Linked DNA regions of Homo sapiens: regions 1, 2 and 3 are each linked to region 4. Evidence: promoter capture Hi-C in human tissues and cell types (Jung and others, 2019). All regions are on one chromosome and are shown on one strand. The core of a region is centred on a gene start or on the middle of the fragment in contact, and the rest is flanking DNA. Distances in the headings are between cores, read along the strand shown.

Region 1 (5,100 bases), core at 2,406-4,905, 450 kb before region 4:
CAGGTGGTAACACCTGGAATGGTTCCCAGTGCTCCAGTTTCCAGTTAGGGTCCTTATGATTTGAGGATAAAATGTGAAATGGGTTCACTATTAGTTCAAAATATATTTAGTGTACAAATAAGCTTAAAAGGCTAGAAAAGAAAAGGGCACTTTAAAGAAGAACTTTTCGAAAGTATTTTTTTCTAAAGGGATGTGACAATCGACATGTAACATTTTGTACCCAACGCTCACACAGGGAAATCTGACATTATTTCAAAATACTCAAAAATTAGTTGGCTGTCATGTCTTGTGGCTTCTAGCAAATCAATGAAGAAACCTCTAATATAAAGATGATGTTAAAAATGGAGCTTGTGACAAAGCAAGTGATGATCAGACGCCACACTAAAACACAATCCATTTTCCTATCTCTGGATGGCGCCTCTTAGGGGTAATTTGTACTTTGTTCAAATAATTCTCATTAGAGGTCTAAAGGTTTTGCAACAGGAATTAACTAAAACTTTGCTTCTCACCATTTAACAGATTCTCTTAATCACAAATATAAAAATAAAACAATACAAAAACATATATACCCCCAAAATGTTTTGTTTTGAATTTTTTTAACTAGTTTTTCTTTTTTCACTATGAAAGTAAATACATTTATGGTTTTTTGCTTTGTTTGAAAAAAAACCCTCAGAATATAAAATGAAAAACAGCCCCCAAAACATCTCTAGCTCAACCCCGAAAAACAATTTCTAGAGATTCCCTTCTAGAAATTTCCTACATACACCATTAGCATATCTTTCTACCCCTAAAAGAGATCTAATTATCATTTTTGCTCTCCATCCTTTGTTTATTGATTCTCAGTCTTTTCTCCCCTCCTAAGTACCCATCACTCTCCCTCAACTGGATCTGCAATGCCAGGGAACTCAGCTACTCTTCTGAAGGAACTTCACTGATTTTACCCTTTCTTTTCTAAAGGATTTCTGAGTCATACTCAGTGTTTTACAATCTCTACATTAATTAACTAAATTAACGAAAAGGTCTGGAGTTAATGAAAATGTTCTTAGAAGTCCTACCCATCAAGAAACTTTATCTGCTTGGTGTTGAAGTAGGTTGCTAACCTACAGATATTTCTATTTCAACTATTAAGGTGGGTAATAAAAACCAGAAGTTTTAAGAATCTATTCCAGGAATTGAGAAACAATAAACACAACTTCTGTGTGAGCTGGCTGCATGACATGCATTTTGATGACAGTAGCAAAACCTCTAATATTCTTTGAGATGACATGGAATTAATTTTAAAAAAACTTTAAGCCTAGGCAACATAGCAAGACCCTGTCTCTACAAAAATAATAAAAAATTATCTGGGCATGGTGGTGCGTGCCTGTAGTCCAAGCTACTGCGGAGGCTGAAGTGGGAGGATGGCTTGAGCCCAGGAGTTTGAGGCTAGAGTGAGCTATAATCTCACCACTGCACTTCAGCTTAAGTGACAGAGCAAGACTCCGTCTCAAACAAAAAACAAGAAAACTTCAATTATTCCTATTTATATAACATAGAGAAAACATTAAAATTGTTTTGTGTTATTTATCTAAATGCAGCACCAAAACATTTTACCGTTAAAAAAGAAGACTTAATTAATTAAAAGAAAGCCTGGGCCGAGCATAGTGGCTCACATCTGTAATCCCTAAACTTTGGGAGGCTGAGGTTGAAGGACTGCTTGAGCCCAGGAGCTCAAGACCAGCCTAGGCAACATAGGAAGACCCCGTATCTCTACTAAAAAAAAAAAAAAAAAAAAAATTAGCCAGGCATAGTGGCATGCACCTGTCATCCTAGCTACTTGGGAGGCTGAGGTGGGATTGCTTGAGCCCAGAAGGTGGACATTGCAGTGAGCTGTGATCAAATAAATGCACACCAGCCTGGCGGACAGAGTGAGACCCTGTCTCAAAATAAATAAAAATAAATTTAAAAAAATAGAACAAAGCCTGCATTTCTAATACTAACATTTCCAACAGCTCTGAGATATGTATCAGTCTGAAAGGCACTGATAGTAGAGTTACATAAAATGGGCTACTTAGGGCAAAAAGAGTAAGAAGAGACCATATTTGCCTGGCTACGCACAGTCCATCTCTAGAATACGTAAGAAACAGCTAACACTGGTTGCCTATGGGGAGGGGAATGACCAGTGACCCCAGAAACAGACAGGAGGAAGAGTTTTCACCAATTACTCTGCTTTTTTGGAATTCTGAACCATATGAATATATTATCTACTCACAAGAACTTAAAAAAACTTTTAAAAGAAAATTGTTTGTACAAAAATTTACTAACATCTTAAATAAGAACACTAGTTCCAGTTCTTAAGCTGCTTTTCATGGGGCCCTTTTCCTGCCAAAAACGGGGCTCAGGAGGGGAAAGCATTGTCTACTCTCCCTACAGACCTGAACTTGGATGAAAAAACACACCTTGAAAAAGCTAATCTAGACTTCTGGAAAATAAATCACAGGAGCTCCCCCAATCACTCTGGACACGGGTTTTTTAAAGCTTAATTTTGTTTTATAAGCCCTAAAAAAAAATAATAACCTGGACTCCTAGGTCTGACATTCAAGGCCCTTGGTGATGTTATCTCGCCTTCAGATGCCCAAGCTGATGCTCTACTCACCCTCAATGAGCTCTGGTGTCCTTCCTCCAACAAGCCTCCCTGACCACCCAGCCTGAGGCATCCACTTCCTTCCAGTCAGACATCGAGCTGAGTGTGAAATGCTATAGGCCACGGTGGGCACCACGGGACTGCTCACCCACCACACCACACAACTCAGAGTTCCATGAGGACAGAAGCAGCTTCTGCCACTACTGTCATCACCACAGCCCAGCAGGGTGCCCCACACGTAAAATGTGCTTAAATATTTGCTGAATAAAAGAATGAAGTGGTAGGAGTCAAGACTGGATCCCGGGCCGACCAACCCCCGCAGGGCAGAACCACACCTTTAGTCTCCACCATCTCAGAAGCAAAACCATGAGGCCTCCTAAATTCTGGTAGCCCAGTGAACATAACCCAAAAACTGTCACAAGAGCCAGACCTCCACCCTGCTATGAGTGCTGTTCCCTCTGCCTGGAACAGTACTATCTGCCATCTCCTATTCACCCTCAGGTGTCAGTGCTAACGTCACAGCCCCCGGGGACTTCCAATACCCTTCAAAACAGGCTCAGTCCCCATCTGGTGCCTCAGTCAATGCACAGTATGTCCCCTCCAAGGTCACACCTGACTGCAGTTACCTGTCCAGTATCCATCACCACCCATGAGGGCAGAGATGGGGCCTGTCACATCCCCACTGGATCGCCAGGGCCTACATCACAGCATAACAAATATTTTCTAAATTAGTGAATAATCCTGAACAGTGTGACCTAAGCCGTGAATATTTTTGAAGGAGTCTTTCATCATTTTTAATTTGGAGTCTTGCATCTTTAAAAGATGATCGTTTTAAAGGAACTTTGTCATAAATATCTAGGTGATACGTATCTTAAAGAAAACTCTAGACAAAGAGGATAAGTAAATGTACTTACAGTTGTGCTGTCCAATACCGTAGTGACTAACTACATGTGGCTATCTTCATTTACTCAAACCAGGTAACATTTAAAATTTAGTTCCTAAGTCACACTAATCACAATTCAAGTACTCAACAGCCACACGTGGCTCGTGGTTCCAGTACTGTGTCATATAGACACAGCGTAGAGCCGCCCTCCCAATAACGACCACTGGACAGCGCTGGCTTGGAGGGCATCCCGAGAACACAGGCATCCCCAAACAAGGAAACATCTCAATTCACCCTCTTCCTCCTGGGAAAGAATCCGTTCTCCCCTAAAGTTTCAGTGACTGAGAAAGCCATCAGTGAAAGCAAAACACTTGATTCTCTTGCCATCATTCAAATGATTCCCTCAGAGACTTCTCAACAGAAGTTCAACTACGGGCAGGTGTGCTCTTCAAACAAAAACCGATTCCCACAGTAGTAGAGGAACAACCACAATGACACAGAAAACCTATCAATATGTTATGTCTTTTTGTTATTTTCAATAAAGGTGACGTTCTGAATATGTAAATCAGATTTAAGTAAAGATATCCACAAATCGGGGAAAAATTTTGTCCACCACGGGGTAACTTTTACTTATAAAAAAAAAAAATCACACCAAATCTAGGAGAACAGAAAAACAGTAATCTCCATTAAAAGAATTTCCTACTATAGAATCTGCAGGAGGAGAAAAGTCACACAGTACAGCACAGAGCTGAATCTGTTCCTTTCAAGATCTGTGTAGCTGAGCCCGAGAGGCAATTGAGTTTCACTGGTATTCCTTTCAACCAACCTGACTAAACTGGACAGTGATCCCAAGGCCATTTTCTTCCCAACTCTGTTTTCAATAAAATACTATATTTATAATTTCTCTGCATTTACTTTTCCCTTTTCTCTAAGTCCTAATCTAAATCAAGCCCTTGTTCTGAAGCAATAACTAGAAACAGAGTTCCATTTAATTAAGAGTTCAATTTTCCAATAAAAAACAGTTGAACTGCAAACACAGACGGAGTAAAATGAGTCAAACGATTACCCATTTTGTAAGATTCTCGAATCTTAGTTCGTTTTCTTACAAACTGGTTCCCAAACTGCACTAGAGCTGGCACTGAAAGCCAAACAGGCAGGGGCAGAAGCTTCCCATGTATTCAGTGAGAAGCCTCCTGATTCCGGGTCAGGCTACATCATCTTAGTCCTCACTGGCCCAAGAAGTAGGTGATGGCTAATATTTTCCCATACAATTAAACAATAAAAACAGCTGCCTCAACCTGCTATATGCCAGGCACCCTAGTAGCCCCATGTACCAAGATAATCAAAGTAAGCAGAAGTAGAGCCAGGCACAGTGGCTCCATCTCACACCTGTAATTCCAGCTACTCAGGAGGCCGAGGCAGGATTGCTGAAGGATGGGAGTTCAAGACCAGCTTGGGCAAGCAAGACCCCATTGGAAAGAAGAAAAGTAATGTAAAGAAGGGGAGGGGAAGGGGAAGGGGAAGGAAGGAAAAGAAAGAAAGAGAAAAAAAGAAGGAAGGAAGGAAGGAAAAGAGAAAGAAAGAAAGAAAAAAG
Region 2 (4,410 bases), core at 1,431-3,930, 300 kb before region 4:
CAGCAGGCATAGCTAAAGGATGGCTTGGAGCTCAGTGTGGCTGGAGCAGAGAACGTGTGGAGGGAATGGCCAGGGCTGAGCCACAGCACCTGTGCAGGGCACTGTGTGGGCCATCCTGGGAAGCCTCCATTCTGGGGCCACGGGCAGCAGGGGGGCGGGAGGAGAAAGAAGAGCCACATAGGAGGCATGAGGCGTAGGACAAGCCAGGGAGCCGGTGGAAATGCCAGCCACAGCGGGTGGGAAGTTGGGAGGCACGGGAGTCAGGAAATAACAGTGGAAACGGGAAACCTACTCCCCACAAACTGCTGGCGAGAGGCAAGGCTCCCATTACAAGCAACCAAGCGTGATGGGCGAGGGCCTGGCTGCTGGAGGGGGCCTCGGAGTCGGGTCCAGGTCCGCCCCCTAATCCCGTGATCTAAGTGAGCTGCTTCATCTCTGCCTCTCAGTTTCCTCATCTCTAAGGGGAGGGCAGGAGCAGAGCTAGTGAGCTGCTTCATCGCTGCCTCTCAGTTTCCTCATCTCTAAGGGGAGGACAGGAGCAGGGCTAGTGAGCTGTTTCATCGCTGCCTCTCAGTTTCCTCATCTCTAAGGGGAGGACAGGAGCAGGGCTAGTGAGCTGCTTCATCGCTGCCTCTCAGTTTCCTCATCTCTAAGGCGAGGGCAGGAGGAGGGCTTACCACACAGCTCGCATGTGAGGCTTAAATGATCAACACGCACGCAGCAAGCACTCGACATTAGCTGTGATTATCGACGCAGTGTTTGATCTGCGTATCACTGGAATCTTTTTCATGCACCTTCTACATACAAAAGCATTTGCAAAACTGTTAAATCAATAATTGCTCCTGATTTGTTTCTGACTTGAGTTTTTCTTTAGGAAGCGCTGAATGACCAACCCATAGTGATAACATGATCCTACTAGCTTTACGAAGGTCAAACACACCTCCGTGTCCACAACGAGCAAAATCGGGAAGTAAATTATCTTTTTATTTATGCTTCAATATGGAAAGCTAAATTTAAAGTGAAACCTTTTGTCAGAACCAGAAGGGTTATCACCCTGACAGGTAAGGCAGAGCCCAGCTGCCTAATCACAAACGCCTGAGAAATACATCAGGACAGGTTACTGAGTTCAAGCCCAGCGAAAGTCTTAAGTCAGGAGACTCTGCAGGCGACATGATTTAATGAATAACCACACACATGGACCCTGGGGTCCAAGTTCATTAGAATGGCTCTTTTGCAGCAGAAGGTCCAAAAAAAAAAAAAAGACAGCTAAATGATTTAAGTGTAGTGTAAACAGGAGAATAATTAATATGATTTCTTATATTCTTTCCTGGTTATCCATTGATTTTAAACCTCAACAACAGCGATGTCTTTTATCAGCTTAATTTTACAAAGGCTACAGAGAGGGGTGGGCATTTCCTAATGGGCTCCTGTCTGACGGGGGAATTTGTCTATGGCTGTGTGCGTGGAGGTTAACGCAGTTAACGTTCTTAAGTATTCTTAAGTATAGTGTCACTTCTTTGAAAACTAAAACTGCACTTTGCACATAGTGGTGATCAGGTTTGGTGACCCAAGTATAGGAAGAGTGACTGACAAAGCCCATTTTGGAAAAGAGTGATGGGCGAGGCCCATTTCTGGCCTCATTTGTCCCAGTCTCTTTCTGTGGGATTCTTGCCTTGGACTGAGATACCCTCAGCCACCAAGAATCAAGGACCTGACTGCCAACTCAACAGAAAGAGAACAACAGCGAGGCACGGGGATCACAGCTGTGACCCCGGCACTCTCGGAGGCCGCGGCAGGAGGATCACTTGAGCCCAGGAGTTTGAGACCAGCCTGGACAACATAGCGAGATCCCATCTCTATAAAAAATTTAAAAATCAGCTGGGTGTGGTGGCACCTGTGGTCCCAGCTACCCAGGAGGCTAAGATGGGAGGATCACTTGAGCCCGGGAGGTTGAGGCTGCAGTGAGCTGTGAGTGCGCCGTTGCACTCCAGCCTGGGCAAGAGAGTGAGACCCTGTCTCAAAAAAAAAAAGAAAAAGAAAAACAAGCCAGGCGTGGCGGCACACGCCTGTAAATCCCAGCTACTTGGGAGGCTGAGGCAGGAGAATCGCTTAAACTTGAGAGGCGGAGGTTGCAGTGAGCTGAGATCGTGCCATTGCACTTCAGCCTGGGCAACAAGAGTGAAACTCCGTCTCAAAAAAGAAAAAAAAATTAAAAGAAAAAGAAGAAAAGAAAAACAAGAAAGAGAAGAATAATCAGGAAGGAAAGAATGTTTTAAGACATGACTTTGGGAGCCAGCCACATAGCATAACAAATGCCTAGAAGCTTACGTCACTTATGACTTAAAACAATAAACAGAAAAGAGGCAATCAGCTTGGGCTGGTTCAGAAACATTCCAAAAACGTCTTTCACTTTGCATTGCATTCTTCCTCACGACTAGGTCGGAAACGACCAAGCGGCATGAGAGTTATTTAAACTAAACTGTAATCAGCCAATAAGAAAAATAAAGATAAAAATACTCTTAATCTACCAAATAGCCAAAGCCTATGGAGTCATAGATATATTTTATAATTATCTATTCTTTCTGCGTAAGAAGAACAAAAGTTTTGGTACAAAAGAGAGAATATCTTTCATATGTTAACATTAAAATGCTCTCCGGAGGGTTGTAAGTCCTTCCTACTCATATGCACCATAAATAATCATAAGAACTGATTTGTTCTTGTTGTCCCAATATTTGATGATAAATCTCAAGTTCCTACTACAAATGGCTGCTGGTGAAACTTAACCTCTTCTTAACAAATGAAGTCCCAGGTCAGGCGCGGTAGCTCACTCCTGTAATCCCAGCACTTAGGGAGGCCGAGACGGGAGCATCAGTTGTGCTCAGGAGTTTGAGACCAGCCTGGCCAACATGGCGAAATCCCGTCTCTACTAAAAATACAAAAATTAACTGGGCGTGGTGGCACATGCCTGTAATCCCAGCTACTCAGGAGGTTGAGGCAGGAGAATTGCTTGAACCCAGGAGGCGGAGGTTGCAGTCAGCCGAGATCGCACCATTGCACTCCAGCCTGGGTGACAGAGTGAGACTTTGTCTCAAAAAAGAAAAAAAAAAAAAAAGAAGTCCCAAATAATAAAATATGAGATGGATTTATGGAAGAAAGTGAAAGAAACAAAGGGTAGGCACCTTGCCTGTTTAATTTGATCTTCTGCTTAACCAAAAAAAAATTTTTTTGTTTTTTTTTGAGACAGAGTCTTGCTCTGTTGCCCAGGCTGGAGCGTAGTGGCGCGATCTCAGCTCACTGCAACCTCCGCCTCCCGGGTTCAAGGAATACTCCTGCCTCAGCCTCCTGAGTAGCTGGAATTACAGGTGTGTGCCACCATGCCTGGCTAATTTTTGTGTTTTTAGCAGAGAGGGGGTTTTGCCATGCTGGACAGGCTGGTCTCGAACTCCTGACCTCAAATGATCCGCCTGCCTCTGTCTCCCAAAGTGCTGGGATTAAAGGCGTGAGCCACCACACCCAGCCAGAAAATAAAATTTTAGAGCATGTGCACGCATTCTCTCTCTCTCTCCCTCCCGCTTCCCCACCCCTGCTTCTAAACAGGTACCTTCTATACCCAGCTTCCCTCTCTCTCCCAGTAATGGCTAAACAGCTGCCATCACAGCCAAATGGGAATGACAGGCATCCCCTGAGTGACCACATTCCCCTGTTTTGGCCTTTTTTTTTTTTTTTTTTTTGAGACAGAGTCTCGCTGTGTGGCCCAGGCTGGAGTACAGTGGCTCCCTCAGCTCACTGCAAGCTCTGCCTCCCGGGTTCACGCCATTCTCCTGCCTCAGCCTCCCGAGCAGCTGGGACTACAGGCACCCACCACTATGCCTGGCTAATTTTTTTTGTATTTTTAGTAGAGATGGGGTTTCACCGTGTTAGCCAGGATGGTCTCGATCTCCTGACCTCATGATCCGCCCACCTCAGCCTCCCAAAGTGCTGGGATTACAGGCGTGAGCGACCGTGCCTGGCTTGGCTTCTTATCTTCTGTATTCCGAGTTAATAAATGCCCCACTGCTAAATGCTACATTCCAGAATGCTAACATAGGGAGAGTCCAGGAGTCCACACACTTCAGAGACCTTCGCCTCCCACCTCTAAGAAACCTCTTGAATTAGGGTTTACTAGCACGAGCCTTCACAAAGACTGTAGAAATGAGTCTCTGAGAGACGACACCCAGCACACCCAGCACACCCAGCACACCAGCGAACAGCCCACCAGGTGCTATCGCTGTCATTCATTTGCTCATTCGCTCGTTCATGCACCCAGCAGACTAAATGTTTACTGAGTACTTACCGAAGGTTAGGATCTGGGCTAAGGGTTGAAAGAAATAAATAGGTTAAAAAAGAAAAAAAGCCACCTAGGTGACTTTC
Region 3 (4,579 bases), core at 862-3,361, 360 kb before region 4:
CTGTGCAGAGTGCGCGGAGGCCAAGGAGTTATTGGCAGAAAAGCAAGAGCGGAATGAGCTTGCGTACTTGAAGTCTGTGGCCGTCTGCCAACATCTCCTTCAAATATGAACATTCTTATTTTCGCTCTGGAAGTTTTTGTCAGGTTTATTGCAAATGCAAGGGTGGTGAGCAGACAGAAAGAAAATGGTATTTACTGAGCTGGAAGGACTGTTTTCTCAACCGTTTCTCAAGAGCACGCAAGGAGACGTGCACTTTCCTGGGTGACATCAGGTTCTCCGTGGGGATTTTAATCCAAATCAGATATGGCCTTGTTTTACGAGGGATCCTCTTGGGTCTCAGGGTGTGAGGATTCATAATAAGTACACGTCCATCCAGTACATGGCGAAGACCATTGTAAGCCACCCCTGGAAACACATACAAGACAGATGGGCACGCAGTTCACAGGATAGCGCAGAATTCTAATGAATTTCATTGGCATCAAATGTTATGTTCCTGTAAACTGAGAGCCATGAAATTAGAATGAGTGCCTCACAATAGTTCAAAAGTGACTCACTTCATTGAAAAAACGTCTCGGAAACATAAATTGGTAAATCAAAACTAAAACTAGTACCCTTTAAAAAAAACTGAGAATGATGTCCCTAAGTTTTTTTTTTTTTTTTTTTGAGACGGAGTTGCGCTCTTGTTGCCCAGGCTGGAGTGCAATGGCGTGATCTCGGCTCACTGCAACCTCCGCCTCTTGGGTTCAAGTGATTGTCCTGCCTCAGCCTCCCGAGTCACTGGGATTACAGGCACCCACCACCACTCCCAGCTAATTTTTGTTATTTTTAGTAAAGAGGGGGTTTCACCATGTTGGCCAGGCTGGTCTCAAACTCCTGGCCTCAAGCAGTCCTCCTGCCTTGGCTTCCCAAAGTGCTGGGATTACAGGCATGAGCCACCGTGCCCGGCTGGGATGACTATTTTAATCTCAAGAGAGCCATCTGGGTTCCTTCCAGGGCACAATTCTATTTAAGGATATACTTTCTTATTTTTACACAAGTTTGATAACTGGATAAAAAAAAGACGAACTTTTTTTTTTTTTTTTTTGCATGGACCAAAAAATGTAGCCATAAGAGCATTTGTTAATACGCACGTCTAACATCCTCCTTCCCACCTCCCTGTGCAGCACAAAGTGGTAAAGACAGCAAGAATTTTCTTTCTAAACAGTTGGGCTGAAATTAAACAACAACAACAACAAAAACCCAAATGCCCATTCTCCTCCCAGCGGAAGTACAACCTCTCTTTGTATCATGTTACTCATCCGCTGCACACACCTGTTCATCCAACAACAGCTAACAAAAGTCAGACTCCGAGTTAAGCGATGTACACATCACAGTTTGTGCTGGAAATCTGATCCAAGCACATGGACAGAACTTTCTATGGTTCTCGGCTCCTAAGCTTGGCAGCTTGTTTTCAGCGTATTCTTAAAAACCTAGGAAACTGGCAATCATACTTCTAAGTTAAAAGATTGGGAAATCAGGCCAGTGAATAAATACTTACTTTGGATCTGCACTATTGATGAAAAATAAAAAATCACTGGAAAAAAATGAGCCCCTTTCTTCTATTTTTGCTCAAAGCAGTCCAAAGAAAACAAGTTTTGGTTCACTGCTGTCTGTGAGCTCAGTGTTGAACAAATTCCAGCAAAATCACAGAGAAAGTTGGAACCAGATTTGCAGCGCTCTATCTCATACATGTTTCTTCTTCTTCTTTTTTTTTAAGAGACAGGGTCTCGCTCTGGTGCCCAGGCTGGAGTGCAATGGCACAATCACAGTTCACTGCAGCTTTGAACTCCTGGATTCAAGCGATCCTCCTGCCTCAGGCTTCTGAATAGCTGGGACCACAGGCACGCACCACCACCCCCAGGTGCCTTTTATATCATTTGTAGAGATGGGGTCTCACTATGTTGCCCAGGGTGGAGTGCAGTGGCATGATCATAGCTCACTGCAGCCTCCAACCCCTGTTGCCAAGGCTGGTTCCAAACTCCTGGGCTCAAGTGATCCTCCCACTGTGGTCTCCTAAAGCACTGGGATTATAGACGTGAACCACCACAGCTACCCCGTGGTTCTTAAAAAGGGGTCTCCTTAAAAAGGAAGCTTCACCTTCCTTTTTGGTGTGAGGGAGACAGACCGTCAGGGAGAGGGCACTTTGTTCTTCTAATTGCCTTTCTGCAGAGGTTCCTGCTCAAGGAACGGGACGCCTAAACCTCAAATCCCCAGTGGCATTCAAGGCTGCTCGCAGGCACAGGGCGTGTTCTGGCCAATCCTGTTCGAGCAAGGGGAGCTGACATTGGCCCAGCACAGGCAGGCTGCACAGAGCTGCAGCCCATTCTTCCTGGAAGCGCCTGCATCAGAGCCAAGGACAGGCCACCTAGTAGCAGTGTCCCTGGAGCCTGGTGCTTGGCTCAGTACATTAAAATGCAACAACCAGGCCGGGTACAGCAGTTCATGCCTGTAATCCCAGCATTTTGGGAGGCTGAGGTGGGCGGATCACTTGAGGTCAGGAGTTCGAGACCAGCCTGGCCAACATGGCGAAATCCCATCTCTACTAAAAATACAAAAATTAGCTGGGCGTGGTGGCCTGTGCCTATAGTCCCAGCTACTTGGGAGGCTGAGGCAGGAGAATCACTTGAACCTGGGAGGCAGAGGTTGCAGTGAGCCGAGATCGCGCCACTACACTCCAGCCTGGGCGACAGAGCGGGGCTCCATCTCAAAAAATATATACGTATTTCACAGATACAGTCCTTCCTCGTTTTGGTAATTGACAGAGCATAAGCAGTTTTTAATTTTTTCAAATTTACAATTAGGCTCCTGCACGGCAACTCTCTTCCTGTGAACTGAAGGGAAACTTGGAGTCTCCCTCTCCACAGGGTTCTCGTCTTCTGGAAAAGAGAAGATGGGAAAATGCGGATAAGAAGAGGGTTAGAGGGGAGGAAAGAAATAAAAACCGAGCAATTTCTAGAAAACATGATGATTAAAAAAAAACCATCCACGCTTTTGGAATGGACGGATTCTTTAACACCTGTGGATTTCCTTATTCTGTGACTAGCAAGCTCCCAAGCCCACAGGTAGGAAGCTTCAGCCAGTGTGTGTGGAAAAAACGCCGGTTTTGGGATACGACGGACAAGTCAGAAGCCTGCTTGAACCGCCGTCACCCCTTTGCAGCCATCCAACACCACGAACAGCAAAAACATCAGGTTCTGGCAACCTGTGGGGACAAAGTGACCATCAGCACGGGGAGGTCGCTGTCAGAGCCGCGTCACAGCTCTTACGCCTCCCAGAATGGTTTTTGGTGTGAGGATTGCTGCATGGATTGAGAAGGTGGAATTTGATTGGAATAACTGGATCATCTCACGGATGGCTGAATCCTAAAATGCCTACAAAGCGTGAAACTGACTCAGGATTTCACAGAGGATGGTAAGGCTCTGATTTTTCCACTTGGCACTCATCTGGGTGTTATCATTAGCACTTTGGTTTAATGCTGCAGGGTGAGGAGGATGTACCCAGAGGCCCCACTGACGCACCCCGTCCAGTGGCTTCTGACATGCAGAGCTGCAGGACGGGCGTCGCTGAGCTGGCCGGGGCAGGCTGGGAGCTGAGCTTTGCAGACACTGGGTCCTGGTGAACGACGATGCTTCGACATCCACTCTTCTGGGCATTCCCAGCCTGTCCTCTGCTCTGTCCCTGCCCTCCCCTAATTCCAATTGGTGGGATTGGGTGGGGCTCTCTGGGCCCCACACTGGTCTGAGAGCCTGGCGTGCTGCTGCTGGGCCAGCCCAGGAGCGAATGGATGAAGTTCCTCTTTCTGAGCCGGGATCAGGCCCAGAACTCCCAGCTCGCAGCTCGGGCAGCTGCCTGGTGCTGAAACCAGAAGGGACCTCCGGGACTTAGTGGCAGCTTACAGGGAATGGCTAGGAGTGTCTCCCTCTGGGCCAGTGAGTAGGGTCCAGACCAGGAAAAGCGTCAGAAACGGAACACGAGGTTCACCAAGAAGCCAAGGGGGCCGGCTGAGGGCCAGCATCGCACGTTGATGCTGGGAGGTTGCTGCTTTGCAGGAGTAAGGGAAGGAAGAGGCCATCTCAGAGCAGCCGCAACACTGGAGTCCACACAGGGGAGCTCTTGGCAGAGCCATCCACAGCGATGATTACTGTGGACACAGATGGGGAGGCCCTGTGTGTGAGGCAGTGACAGAGCCATTGGTTGGGAACACAGCCAACTCTTTTGGAGTTTTGTTAACTATCCCGAGGTAGAGGCTGAGGGGGACACGCCTACATGTCATGCCACAAACTTAGCGTACTAGAACATGCTAGATTTTCTCTCAAAGCACGCAGGTCTGAGCCTGTCATCATTCTGCCAGTATAACAGACAGGTGAATGAAGAGACGGGGGAACTTGGAAATGAGGGGCTGAAAAGAAGAGAAAGTGGACCCTGGTACTGGCTGTGTAAGAAAAGTAAATAGTGACCCAGAAGAATTTGGGTCACGGTCTGATTCATACAATAAATTCATTTTGTCTCATTTGAAATATTTTAGGAAAAAGGCATGCTT
Region 4 (4,617 bases), core at 174-2,673:
ATGTGCCAAGCCTTGTGCCTGCCATGGATGCCTTGTGATCAAGAGCCACGTGCTTCGGGCTCTGGCGGGGACCGCAGCATCAAATGCACGAATGAAGACGGACTTAAAACCAGCGTCAGATGCCTCACCTCTAGGGGATGCTGATTCTGGGATGCCTTTTTCGTCTCCTAGGCTCCTCAAGGCCAACTGCGCTGGGAAGAGGGGGTGTCCAACAGCAGGAGGGCTGTTTTTTTGAACTACAATTTGCCAGCATACAGCAGAGCAGCAAGAAGATAACAGGGCGGGGGGCACGGGATTAGCCCAAACAAAACACACTCAAGAACGCGAGTCTGTGGTTCAACACGAGGCAGAAAACAGCTGGGCCGGGTGCGGGGCTTCTCCCTCGCGTGTATCCGCTCACTGCACTCGCTGCCCTGGCCGCGGGCGCCGCGCAGGGTGCTGATGTCCAGGAGGGATCTAGACCTCCCGCGGCGCTCGGGCTAGTGGACGCAGGTGGTCCCAAATGCTGGGACCAAGCTAGGAACCAAGCGGAAGCTCGGATTGCTCGGCATCGGGCCTCGTCGTTATTCTACCGTGAGGGAAACTGAGACCGAGGGCACGGCAGGGAGTCGCCCGCCGTCTCACCAGCGTGAGGGGTTGCGCCGGGCCCCGAAAACTGGTTTGCGCCGCCCGGCATCGGGATCCGGGACCTCTGCCCGCCGGGCGCTGCCTGCGCGTTCCTGGAACTGGGCTGGGCGGAGAAATCAGGGCCCGCAGAGAGGCATTCCTGCCGCCTTCCCCGCCGCCCGGGGCCGCAGGGGGGCCTGGCCAAGGTGACCCCGCGGGAGGAGGCGAGGGGTCCCCGCCCGCTCCGCCGCCGCGACCTCCTCCATCTTCCCGGTCTGCGGGGCTTTTCCTCTGGGCCCGCGCGCCCGGCCCCCTCCTCGGGCTTCCCCGAGGGCGGGACGTCTCGGGCTCCCCCGCCCCCCCAGGCCACCTCCCGGCCGTGTCCTAGCGCTGCCCTCGGGCCGGGGGCGGGGCCGCGGGGGGGGGGTGGCGTGAGGATGGGGCCGAGGAGGACGCGCGCGGCTCGGCGCCCCACTTCCCTCCCTCACCCCTCCCTCCCGGTGCCCGCTCCCCGCGGCCGCGCCGCCCTCCCTTCCCCCTCCCTCGGCCCAGCGCCGGCTCCCGCCGCCCCCTCCCCCGACGCGCACGCCCCGCCTGGCAGCTGGCGCCCCGGGCCTGGGGCCGCAGCGGTGAGAGGGGTTTTGCTGGGAGGGAGGGAGCGAGCGAGCGAGGGGAGGGGTGGAGGCCGCCCCCCGCGCCCCTCCTCCTCGCCCTCCTCCGCGGCCGGCGGGCCCTCCTCCCGCCGCCTCCCTCCTCCCTCCTCCCGCCCGCCCGCCCTCCCTCTAAGACATCCCCGCACGGCCCGGCCGCCGCGGCCACCTTCCCTGCCCGAGCTGCAGATGTGGCGGAGCGGCCGGGCGCCGGGCGGCCGTGCCAGGGGAGCCCGCGCCCCGTGAGGCCTCGCGCCCCGGCCCCCGCCCGTCCCGGCCCCTCCCCCGCTCGGCTCCCCGCGCCCCCCGACCGCCGGAGCCCGCAGCCCGGATCCCGACCGCCCCCGCCGCTGAGGTAGGAAGCCCCCCGGGCGTCGCGCCGTGGGGACCGGGCCGGGGCGGGGGGGGGGGGGCCCGCCTGTCGCGCCGGGGCTGCGGGGCCCGAGGGTCTCCTCCCCCGCTCGCGTCCGCGCCCCGGGCCATTGTGAGCCCTCGCCGAGGCCCCCGCGTTCGCTCGCTCGCTGGCTCGCGCGCTCCCTCCCTCGCCGGCTCCCCGGCCGGGTCCCTCGAGCTCTCGGTCTTTCTTCTCCCTCCTTCCTTCCCTCCGTCTGGAGGCCGGGCCGAGCAGCGCCCGGGCCCGGGGCGGGCGCAAACTTCAGCTGGGAAGTTGGGCGGCCGCGGTGGGGGGCGTGCGGCGAGGTGAGAGGGGGGTACCCGGAGCCTGGGCATGAAGTTGTCCGGGGCAGCCGCCCCTCCTCTCGGCCGCGCCGGGGCTGCTGCTAGGAAGGGCTTTGGAAGGTGCCTCCTCCCTTGGCCGGGAGAGTCTCCCTCCTGCTGCCCCTCGCAAGCCCGGGTCCTTCCTTGGACCTCGGGAAGGGGCGTCCCTGGGGGGTCAGGACTGGGAGTTTGGGACAAGTCAGGCACTTGTTACTCCCCTGCGGTCCGGGTGGACGCAGGCGACCGGCCTGGCAGGGAGGAGATGGCAAGGGGTCCATACTCGCCGGAGGGCGGGTCTGGAGCGGGTGGAGGAGGGGGCGAGGCAGGTGCATCCCGAGGGAGGAGAAGCACGCACAGCTTCCCCGCTGGCCCCCTGGGATGGGGCTGGAATCCAGGCTGGCACCTGGAGGCCTTGGCATGCTGCCCTGCCCAGCAGGGTACTCGGGCCACAGCAGGGCAGCGTGCAGCCTGTCTGCCTGTCCAGGAGGGCCCGCCCAGCCTGGCCAGAGGGTGGCCGGGAAGCAATGGTTTCAAGGAGTTGCCCAGCCCTGCCCTGGGGCCTGGGAAGCTGGAAGGGATGCTGGGAGGGGCCCTGGGCCCCCAGCCATCACAGCCCAGGATCTTGGCTCTGGAGGGAACGCTTGACACTGAGGGGGCAGCCAGGCCGGCTGGGGACCTGGCCAAGGCCTGGGCTTGGTCTGGGCCATGGAAAGGGCCTGGGCCATGGTTCTTGGAGGCTGGCACCCTGGGTAGTAGGCCGCCATCCTGCGTGTCCTGGCATCCTGGAGGGAAGGTGGGGCCAGCCTGCGGCTGGGGAGGAAGCCCAGAGACACTGCGCTTCGGAGGGCCTTCCAGCCCCCGGGCTCAGGGGAGGGGAAACTGGCCCCTTGGGTCACCCCTCCCCAAGCCCCATTCTGGTGCCACAGTGCCACAGCTGTCCAGGCCCAGCCCACACACCCATCCCGGGTGACCTCGGACCTCCCCCTCTGCTTCTCCTTCTCCCCAGAGCCCAGGCTGGGCCTCCTAGCTGGCCTGGCCTGCACAGGGGGAGGGGCTGCACCTGGGAGGCCCCTCCCAGGACACCCTTTGCCAAGCTCCAGCCTGGCCCATTTCACTGCCCACCTCCAGCTCAACTTGGCCCTGTCTGCAGCCAGCCAAGCAGGAGACAGTGCCAGGGACTTGGGATGGTGTTTTGGGGGGTGTGCGGACCCCTTGGAAGCAACCCTGTTTTTCTTAGCCTTTCCTCCTCCCCCTCCTTTCCGGAGCTGCCATTAGCGCTGACCCCCTGTGCCTGCCCGCCCTTCCCTGTCTGTGACCTTTGACCTTTGGTGTTAAATCCCTCCAGCTGGGGCTCTTCGGCCCCTGAGTGACCCTGGCCCAGGCCCCCTGGGGAGTTCTCTCCTTGCTCCTGGCTCTCTACACAGGGACACCTGCCAGTCCCTCCCTCACCAATGGGGAGGGGGTGCCCTGGGAAGCCAGACAGTGAGTCACCCCACTTCCAGGCACCGCTGCTTTTGGGGTCAGTGGCTTCTGGGGATTGGCTGGAGCCCAGTCACAGCTTGGAGGGTGACCGGGGAAAGCCCCTGGCCTGGGAGTCTCCTGCCCTGGGTTCAAGTCTTGGCTCCACCACCAACTTCCAGTGGTCCTTGGGTCAGACTCCTCCCCTCTCCCGGCCTTGTCTATGAAACCAAGGGGTCAGACCAGGTGAGCTCCCAGAGTCCATGAGAAGCCTGGGTGGAGGGGGGTCAGGGGGAGGAAAGAGGGTGTAAATCCAGCAAAAGCCAACTCTCAATTATCCGAGGGTGGAGCCCGGATGAATAACTGGATGCCACAGACATCCCAAAACCTCATTGCAAACAATCGTGTGAACCGCGTCCCCCCAAAGCTTTTGTTTCTGAGAAACCCAGCTGCAACTGGGTAGCCACAGCGATTTCTTCCCCCGCCTGAACTCCCCTTGCAGGGAGGACAAGTAGAGGGCTGAGAGTGAACAGGCCGGAGGGAAAACAAAGGTCTCCCAGGGCCCCTTCTTGGGGCCTGGAGGGAGGCCTGGACCCCATTTCCAAGGCCCCCACTCTCCCCTCCACCCTCCTTCCCGGCCTGGCCTTGGCCCCGGGCGGTGGGAGTGTCCTCTCACCACCTAATCCTCTCAGGGTCTGGGCAGCCATATAGGAGGAAGAATGTGTTTTCCCGGCAACAATTTCCCATGTGTATTTCTAGCCACCCGCTCCACTCGCCTGGAATCTGAATTCCCCACTTGGACCAGGGGGTGAGGGCCAGTGCCGGCCAGGGTTTGGGGCAATCTCTGGATGAGGGAGGGTGGCGACAGCTGTGACTGGGGGACCAGATGTGGAGCTCTTGTGGGGCATCTTGGGGGGGCTCCTGGGGAGGCACTTTTGTGGGTCGCCTGGCCTGACCCCCAGCCCCAGAGGCTGCCTCCGAAGGTTCCTGCCTCTAAGGGGAGGCCCAGGGGTCTCTGGCACCTAAGGAGGAAATTGATTCCATGGGAGAGGCCCTGTGCTGGGTGGAATTGGGGCGGGGGTGGCTGCAGAGAAAAGTGTCCCCTGAATCCCTTCCTCTCCTCATGGCTATAATTGTTACTTTATTTCACAGCAGGTGACTGAGACCACAGGGGAACCCCGGAAGG

The links. The method cuts DNA at HindIII sites, captures the fragments that hold promoters and counts their contacts. A contact is called where the count stands out against the background at its distance.
Region 1: a fragment that was not itself captured here is called in contact with the fragment with the promoter of GLIS2 in region 4 in 2 of the 25 tissues and cell types used here (dorsolateral prefrontal cortex and heart left ventricle).
Region 2: a fragment that was not itself captured here is called in contact with the fragment with the promoter of GLIS2 in region 4 in 2 of the 25 tissues and cell types used here (aorta and stomach).
Region 3: a contact is called between a fragment that was not itself captured here and the fragment with the promoter of GLIS2 in region 4, in 4 of the 25 tissues and cell types used here (IMR-90 fibroblasts, aorta, dorsolateral prefrontal cortex and 1 more).

The regions. Positions count from the first base shown.
Region 1 is chr16:3,866,004-3,871,103 of GRCh38, forward strand. All of the region lies in intron 1 of CREBBP (CREB binding lysine acetyltransferase), which reads right to left. Among named protein-coding and RNA genes, the nearest start is that of CREBBP, 12 kb to the right of the region's middle. The HindIII fragment of the contact is 4,672 bases long and covers 1,320-5,100 here.
Region 2 is chr16:4,011,229-4,015,638 of GRCh38, forward strand. All of the region lies in intron 2 of ADCY9 (adenylate cyclase 9), which reads right to left. Among named protein-coding and RNA genes, the nearest start is that of TRIDDENT, 63 kb to the left of the region's middle. RefSeq lists enhancers at 1-515, 516-1,160 and a silencer at 4,060-4,354. The HindIII fragment of the contact is 9,071 bases long and covers 1-4,410 here.
Region 3 is chr16:3,950,602-3,955,180 of GRCh38, forward strand. It overlaps a transcript of ADCY9 not described here. Among named protein-coding and RNA genes, the nearest start is that of TRIDDENT, 2.4 kb to the left of the region's middle. The HindIII fragment of the contact is 4,154 bases long and covers 35-4,188 here.
Region 4 is chr16:4,314,644-4,319,260 of GRCh38, forward strand. GLIS2 (GLIS family zinc finger 2) reads left to right here and starts at 1,424. Exons shown (of 7, transcript NM_032575.3): 1 at 1,424-1,611. RefSeq lists enhancers at 1-51, 52-564, 2,686-3,336, 3,337-3,986 and a silencer at 1-259. The HindIII fragment of the contact is 26,266 bases long and covers 1-4,617 here.